3 separate regions of the Homo sapiens genome follow, and all the other regions are linked to region 1. The links are contacts of gene promoters, found by promoter capture Hi-C in blood cells and fetal thymus (Javierre and others, 2016). All regions are on one chromosome and are shown on one strand. Each heading gives the region's core, a stretch centred on a gene start or on the middle of the fragment in contact. The rest is flanking DNA. Distances are from core to core; before and after follow the strand shown.

Region 1 (2,879 bases), core at 254-2,753:
CATTTAGACACATTGTTTGATTTAAGGATACATAATAATCCATTCTTAATATTTATTTTACTTTTTAAAGTTACTATTTGCACGAAATAAATGATACCGCTTTCGGAAAAAAAATCAAAACATAGATGCCTGAGCAGAGTAAAAATTCTTAGAGAAGCAGGACTATGCATATTCTGTGTCTTTAGACTGTGTTTACAGTATCAATATTTTATTGGTAAAGATTGAGCTGAAAAATATTTGTATCTACTTTATCCATTTTGATTGGATGAGACATGTGCATCTTGATATTTCTTGAGGATATTACAGCTCAAGTTTGGGTACATAATAAGAAATTGCCTAATATAAATTCAAACCAACTTGTGATTACATTTTCACTTGCTTTTTTTTTTTTCCTTTATTTTTGGTATGCTAGTCGAGGTGTGGGCTTTTTATTATAAATGTCACAGATGTCACTTTTCCTGTTCCCAAAGGTATTTGAAAGAAAATAAGGAAATTATCTCAGTTTTCACCAGTATGCTTGAGTGTCCCCAGCACAGGGACAATTTCTTGATTCAGCTTTGCATCCCAGTACCTTGGACAGTGCCAGGCTCAAAATTGGCTTTTAATACCTATTTTGGAACATGAATGATTTTATCGTGATATCATATTTGTTTTATGTGTCTCTAAAGATAAGAATAACCAGAGCTTGAGCATGTTTTTATTTTGCTGTAATAATTGCTTTTATGCAAACTACTCCTAAATTGTTTTTATTTCACTTTTAATGCAAGATCAACACTTGGAAAATTGAATCTCTTGAGCCAAAATTCATGTTGGCACAAAAAGCTATTATTATTTCAAGATATCTTCTTCCTTTTACTTACAAAATCACCATATAAATGTAAGACAAATTAAATTTTAAAATGCCCTTTCAAAAGCAGTACTTACTTTTATTCTCATACTCAAGCTCACAAAGGAATTCTTAGAGGTAGAAGGGAGGCTCCCATGCCCCCCGCCCACCACTGAAAGAAGAAACTGAAAAGAAAAAGAGAAAATTCCACTTAATTTTTAAAAATATTATTACTGTGAAACAGTATGGGTTAGTGTAAATTGTAAAGACATGTATATTCTGAACTCCTCTTTTTAAATGAATTCCCTTTTAGGCTGATATAATGTATTCTTCCTGGTTTCTGTTATTGTTCGCATGCACTACTATAAAGATTATGGATCCCAGCAATTACTCATTTTCACGGTAGAAACCGGCACTCAGTAGAAAACAGGAAAACGTACTGAAGGCAAACCGTTCTGTAAAGGATCTCTGTGGGCCGATATTTATTTCGGTTTGCACTAAATTAGTCGTGGCTTCGCAAGAACCCTTTGTCTGTGGGACGGTGGGTCCCATCATGGCAACCATTATCTATTCGTGGAAACGACATCTGATGACTCCGCCCGGGCTGGGGGTGGGGAGGGAGCACCGCGTGTAGAGCTCGACTGAGAATTAAAGTGAGTGAACAAAGAGAACTCCCAGCAGCCGCCAGCCAGCTGCATCAGGAGATGTTAGTCACGCCCGGAAGGCTGTTCTAGTCCGCCTCCTTGGAAAAGAAGCTCAAGTAAATAATTGATGGAGAATGACCGAACCCAGGACAAAGCTTTGCAGGAAACCAGTGCATCCGTGTTCGAGCGGTTTTGGGATCCTCTGCCAAGTACGGGATAAGAGAATAGAGCAAGGAGTTTGAGCGCTGCTGCCAATCTTCCATCTCGGGCGTGGCTCTGGCCTTTTTGTCTCTTTATCCCGCCACTCCCCACCCCCGTCCCCCGTCCCCCTCCCCGCCTTCTTCTCTTTCCTCTTGAAAGTAACCTCTCTTTGGTTACTTCTACCCTATCGTCCCTTGCAATCCCGCCTTCTCTCCTGCCCAGTTCGGTGAGGTCAGCTCATGAACATCTCTGCACTTCCTGGGGAGCGTCTGGCCCAGCTTGGTACCTCGCGTGTTAGCCTGCTGAGAGCTGCAGCTCCAGCCCAGCCGCGGACCGCCGGGAAGTCACCCGCTCTGGGGGCAGCTGAATCTTGACGTTACCGCCATTGTTTGGAGAAATCGAGTGGGTGTGGAACTGCGGCGAGCGAGCCCAAAGTCATGCTCAGCCGGAAAGTCGCATACAATAATATGAAGTTGAACTTTCCTCGGCGCAGAAAGGCACAATAATAAACCCTGAGATCCCCGGAATATCAGAAGGAAAGTGCTGTTGATTTGTTCAGCTACTTGGAAACCTCGCCTCTGCTGAGAAGTGAGCAAGTTCTGGATTTCTAAAGGGTTGGGGATGAATGATGGGGTGGGTTAGCAGGCGGATAAAACTTGAGATTAAAAGTGTTGGTCTAAGCCGTGCAGGGGTTGGTTGGGTGATAATTTTCACCGGGAAAGCCTTGAAGAGATGCAGCATCTTGTCACTTTGTGGGAACCACGTGACAGCAGCCGGATACCTTTGATTGTGGAGCCCAGTTACTGGAACACAAGCTTTCGCCTGGGTTAATGCTGTCTGAGGGCTGAGTTTAAACATTGGCTTCTCAGCTCTGGAATTATTCTGCCTGATTAAAAACAAAAATAAGTTTGCATTGGCAATATAAGTTAGTTAGATAGCCCATGTTAGTGCCACCCATGATGATAAACTAGGCCAGACATTCTAGTAGTATCGCGACTGGGAGAGAAGATGTAGAAAACAAGTTGGTGGGCAATTTTCCCCCGATGTCTTCTTTGTTCACCTTTATATTTCAAAGTGAGTTGGAAGGAGATGCCAGAAACAGAAAGGGAGGTGGATTAGGAACCCTTCGGTAATATTTCTTTATAAAATGAGGAATTACTGCATGCTAAGTTGTGATGCTAACAATAGATGTTAACAAGAATAATGCA
Region 2 (2,879 bases), core at 129-2,628, 2.0 Mb before region 1:
TAATTTGCTTATGAGAGAGAACTCACACACTGCTAATTGAGAACCTCATGCTACTTATTTACAACAATCCTTGGATCCCTGGGCCAAGAATCAGAAGGAGACAAAGAGTTCTGATGAAAATGACCAAAGGCATTTTCTCTTTTGTTCCGGAAGCAAGTTTTGAGTTTCGGTCTTAACAGTCATCATGGTGCTATTAGTCATAAGCATTAGTCACTAGCCTGGGGATCATGAATGGATTACTGAAAACTTACTTCATATCTGGAGAGAAAACCGGAGTACTTGGATGGAAACCTCAGTCCTAAAGTACCCTCTTACTTGACTTTATAAAGAAGTAAAACCACATGTAGAACTGGAAAAAACAATAAGCCAGGGTAAAGATGCTCTGAATTGGCACTTTACAAGTAAGATAATTCAAAAGTAAGAGAAAGGGACAAAAAATGGATTTCGCTGTGGCTCAAAAACGTCACTGTTAAGGGGGTGAAGAAGGGACCGGTAAAATTTAGTTTCAAAGAGAAAATAGGGGGAAATGACATACTTTTGAGGTTTCTTTCTTTACCAAACTATGGAAAAATGTGTTGGCAAAACCCAGGAGGTTCAGCTTCCTTGCTAAGAGTGTCGGTGGTTTCCTGAGACGAGAATTTCAGAAAACCACTCACTTCCGGGTATGTGTGACTCACTGAGAAGCCCCTCCCCTACACTCTTTTTCCCCTTTAGCTGAAAGCAGCCTCTTCTTAGCAACATGATATCACAGGGCTTCTAAGGTTTTAATGAAGGATATAAGCCTCTGTTAAAGATTGTCCAAGGAGAGTAAATCTCTGTTCTTGATTAGAATTTTAAAAAGCTAGAGGCCTTCCTCTTTCTGGTGTAGCCTCTCTCTGTAGTGTGGTTCTGCCACAAGGACCATCATAGTGACCCTTATTTTTTTTAAACCAATTCACAGGGTGGTGATGGAGAATGAGTGTGGGCTTTCAGGAGGAACATACTGGAATTAAGTACTAGTGTGGAAGCTTACTAGCTGTGTGACCTTGGGCAAGTTATTTAATCATGCTCAGGTCCATTTCATTCATTTATAAGATGGAGATAAAAATACCTACTTCAAACAGCGGAAAATATTAATTAAGGGATTGCCCTGAGGCTGTATTACTTAAAAAGGGCATTGCTAGAAAACTACAGCTAAATCCTGCTCCTATTTTACCTTTTAGGAACATCAAATCTAGATCATTTCTTTAGTTTTTATTGAGAAGGACATTGCCAATATGTCCATTATGATTCTGGTGTGTTTTCCATTTTTAAAAAGTATTTATTTAACAGCTTTTTACTGAGGCCTGCTATGTGCAAAAAGGTACATTAAACTTTGTATTACTTTAGTATTGTAATAGGTCAGCTTTATTTTTTTTTTTTACAGTTTCAGTGGCTGATTCTTAGAGTTTCATAATTACTTGATTACTTATACCCTATTTCTTATTTGTTTGGAATGTGGGTTTAAGATTTTTTTTAAAACCATATCAGTTGGATTGCATACGTGGAAGAAGATATTAAGAGAAATGTGTCCTAATGTTTGTAATTTACATAATAAATAGAATCTAATCTTTTTTCTGTTTGAACATACTTTGGATGTTAAGAAAGAAAATATTTAGGGTTCAGTGTTAAAATCTTTATCTCATTCTGGAAACCCCAAATGACTCCTAAAATATCTCACCCTACTTCCTGACCTTTAGCCTATTTCTGTACCTGTGTGAAGAAAGCTTTCCCAGAAGAAAAACTCAGTTCAGTTGCTTGTCCTATTTGCTTAAGTAACTACTTCAGGCTCTTAGGGTTTGATGTTTTTGTCCAGTAAGAACTGCTGGCCACCAAGGCGGATGCCAGGAGAAGGATCAGAGGACAAAGCAGATATAGGAGGCAGAGGTCACTGGAGTGCCAAGAAATTAGATACCAAAGTGACTAAAGGGAGATTTTTCCAGATGAAGGGGTGGAAGGGAGAGAGAATGAGGGAGGAGGAGTAAAGAGAGGCAGAGGACAAGGGAGAAGGAGCTTCTTGAGAAGCTTGGCCCCCAGTTTGGTGAAAATCCAATTATTTTGTGAGGCGGTATTAAAGCTATCATTTTGTCCAGGATTTTAGGAAAAGAAATGATGACTGACATGCATAGTCTGAAAATCTGAAAAGTGTTGGGATAATGCAAATATCTCCAAATTAATAATCATACATCATAATCAACATTTAGTAATATAAACCTTTATGGTCACACAAAAATGTAAGAATAATCTATTGGCTGTGCATAGATGGAGGTATTTAAGTCAAATATATCATCTCATTTAATACCTGGTCCTGTTATTTGTAGTACATGATTTTGGGCAGGTTAGTTAATATTTTCTCATCTGTGATGAAAGGATGTTATTACAGATCTCACATACATTCAGAACAATGAAAACAAATCATCTTTGTCTAGTATGTGACACAAATCATGCCATAGAATAGGCATATAAAGCATTAAAAATTTTTTCTGGGTGAAGTTCTCATGGTCACTTGCGATCTCTGGTCAATCAGTTTAATGTGGCACTTGCTTATAGAGTAGATTGCATTTTAACCTTAGAGTGCCGAATGAGCCATTATGGTAGCAAATGTATTACTGTTTTGGCACAGAGTTCAGTGACTACACACTAATATGTCATATATTATCCTGTAATTAACAATGAATGGCAAAACTGTTCGTTTATATGGCCAATTAACTAAATGACTGGTTTCCAGTGATGTACTATATACTGAGCTTAATCAAATAAAGGTTGGATTGATGGTCAACAGCTGTGAAGTTGGCATAATAAAATGCCCTTCTTGAAGAAGCACCTGTTAAAAGGACATAGTGGCATAGTGGTACAATAGT
Region 3 (2,879 bases), core at 161-2,660, 1.5 Mb after region 1:
TCCTTTGGGATTAGCACCAATTGAAGTAAATACATATTCACTCACCAATTAGATAAACAAAAGCAAAATATGCTACTAAACAAATTACATTAAATTAAGTAAAGCTACACACTCTGTTAATAAGAGTGTTATATATGCCATTCACAAGTCTTGTACTGTATCACAGACAGGGCTGTGCCATTAATAGGTATTCAATAAATTCATGATGATCATTCCTTTAGCCAAACTCACATGAGAATAGTAGCACTTCCTAACAACTAAGAGATGACACAATGCTATGTCTCTTCCCCTTTGGGAAAGTGGAGACACACACTTTAAAAAAAGAATTTTTACTAAAATGAAAACCAATGTATTTGTTAAAATTGAAAGAAAAGTGTGTTTCTGCCGCTCATAATGTCATTCTAAACAACAGTAGCAAACAGTCTAAAGGAAAAAAGGAAAAGTATTTAGGCATGAAAAGATTATTTTTCTCCTTTCAGTCTCCCAGAAGCTTTCTACCCTACTCTATATCCCTGAGAAAAATCACGAACCATGAGTAGTAAGTGAGCAATACATTTGGGAAACTACATACATTTCAATTTTGTACCTTTAAAATAAAAAGGGGATTAGACACATGAATTTTTTTTAAAAAACTATTTAAAAGGCAACCAAAAGAAAAATATCAACAAATGTTTTGTGAAAACTATGGCCATGGAGAAGGACACAGAGCTACGTATTTCTCCAGTCCTTCAGAAGGTACCACCCATCGATGAGGCAAAAGGCCCAAGAGAGGACAAACTGTGCTTAAGACCTGTGTCTATTCACAATTATTGGTTATTATGTTTCAAAACAAAAGCACCAAAAATTGACTGATGTCCTAAAGCTATACTTAAACTACAAACACAAATTACGAAAATATATTTCAGCAGCACCTTTGCAAAGATCCTCCTCTCATTTTCTATTAATTGTACTATATGAACAGTCAGACGTTCCAAATATACTACCCACTGTGAGGAGCTGCCCTAAAGCAAACAGAAGCAGGTCTCCTTGCCCCTCAACACACTATAAATGGTCCATATATTGACAGCTGTGAAGATAATTTCAAAATCTAGCCTCATCTACTCAACAAAAAAATATTACCCATACTGGCAACCATATTTTTTAACTCTGTGGTCTAGTCTATGTGTATGTATATATATTAATCATTTTCTACATGTATATATCTAAAAGAATTATTCTCAATTGACAAAAAAAGTTTTTAAAGTCCAAGAACAAGATTAAGAATAAAAGCTTTAGCATTTGGAAAAAGGTAAATTAAATCCATTCTTCACATCATACTGGAGAATAATCTCCAAATGAACCAGAGATCTAAAAAGAAAAAATGTAAAACTACAAAAGCACTAGAAGAAAACACAAATGAATTCCTCTATAACTTGAGTGTGGGGAAAACTTTTGCATGGCAAAAATCAATTAGTAGCAAAGTCAAAAGATAAATGACAAGCTAAGGGAAAATACTGCAGCATACATCACAGAAAAATAAGGGGAGTGTGAGGAGGTTGTATCTCAAGCTTACAAAGGACCTTGAAAAATCAGGGAAAGAGACCAAAAATGCTATCAAAAAATGGGCAAAAGACAAAAAAAGACAAATCAAAGAAAGTCATAATGGCCCTTAAAATATAAAAAATTGTGATACTTCATTCGTAACCATAGACATACAAATTAACACTACATTGAGATATCATTTTTCACCCAACAGAACAAGCAAAACTTCAAAAGCCTGAAATATACTCTGCTGGTGAGACTGTGGAAAAACAGGGACTCTCCTACAACTGTTGGTAGGAATCCAAAATAGTATAATGGAGACAAATTTGGCAGTATCTAATGAAACTGCATATGCATACACTCTTCAACCCAGAAATCCTACTTGTAAGAATTTACCCTAGGACAGAGGGGTCCAATCTTTTGGCTTTCCTGGGCCACATTCGAAGAAGAATTGTCTTGGGCTGTACATAAAATACACTAACACTAATGATAGCTGGTGAGCTAAAAAAAATTGCAAAAATTCTCATAACGTTTTAAGAAACTTTACAAGTTTGTATCAGGCCACATTCAAAGCCATCTGGGCCACATGTGGTCCATGGGCTGCGGGTTGGATAAGCTTGCCCTAGAGCTACATCTCCAACATTACAAAGGTATATATTCATAAGGTTAGTCATTTCAAGCATTATTTGTAACTGTAAAATACTGAAAACTACCGATGTCCAACTATAGGAGATTGTTTGAATAAATTACGGTACATACACTCATGAAGCAAAACTAAAACAGAATAAAGATAAGCTCCATGAACTGACAGGAAGTGATTTCCAGGAAATACCATTAAGTGAAAAAAGCAAAGTTAAAACCAACACACACAGTATGATACCTTTTGTGTAAGAAAGTAGCGAAAATAAGAAAATGTATATATTCCATTATGAATCAGAAAATGTATTATCATTACAAAAAGAAACAGGAAGAATCAACTAGAAAACAATGAAGTTAGTCACCTAGGATAGGTGGGAGAACAGGCTGGAAGCGTTATAAAGGTAAAGTGACATCTCTTTGAGTACCACTTCTTGTGTAGTTCTGACTTTTGGAAGCAAGTTCATCTTATACATATTTGAAAATAAAAGTAAATCAATAAGGAGTGGGGGATAGGAGATAAAAACCTAAAACAGAGGGCAAACTGGAACAAATGAACCCAAATGAATTTTAAATGAAAAGGGAAAAAGCAGGCACAGTATTTGACTTTACTGCCCCTTAGGGTGAAGAACTGAAAACACATCCTGAACTCTTATTCACAGGATATTTTTAAGTGGCATAAGCAAAACAACTGTGAAACCATTTCAGATATAGGAATGAGG

Evidence for each region. The method cuts DNA at HindIII sites, captures the fragments that hold promoters and counts their contacts. A CHiCAGO score of 5 or more calls a contact.
Region 2: a contact is called between a fragment that was not itself captured here and the fragment with the promoter of MTCL3 in region 1, in 1 of 17 cell types (fetal thymus). The highest score is 5.6, in fetal thymus.
Region 3: a contact is called between a fragment that was not itself captured here and the fragment with the promoter of MTCL3 in region 1, in 1 of 17 cell types (total B cells). The highest score is 5.9, in total B cells.

The regions. Positions count from the first base shown.
Region 1 is chr6:127,517,959-127,520,837 of GRCh38, reverse strand. It overlaps MTCL3 (MTCL family member 3), which reads left to right and starts at 1,503. Exons shown (of 7, transcript NM_001400265.1): 1 at 1,503-2,259. It overlaps SOGA3-KIAA0408 (SOGA3-KIAA0408 readthrough), which reads left to right and starts at 1,503. Exons shown (of 13, transcript NR_174482.1): 1 at 1,503-2,259. The HindIII fragment of the contact is 11,602 bases long and covers 1-1,627 here.
Region 2 is chr6:129,488,452-129,491,330 of GRCh38, reverse strand. The region is part of intron 56 of LAMA2 (laminin subunit alpha 2); the gene reads right to left. Among named protein-coding and RNA genes, the nearest start is that of ARHGAP18, 220 kb to the left of the region's middle. RefSeq lists an enhancer at 1-759. The HindIII fragment of the contact is 738 bases long and covers 1,010-1,747 here.
Region 3 is chr6:126,002,429-126,005,307 of GRCh38, reverse strand. All of the region lies in intron 7 of TRMT11 (tRNA methyltransferase 11), which reads right to left. Among named protein-coding and RNA genes, the nearest start is that of TRMT11, 17 kb to the right of the region's middle. The HindIII fragment of the contact is 278 bases long and covers 1,272-1,549 here.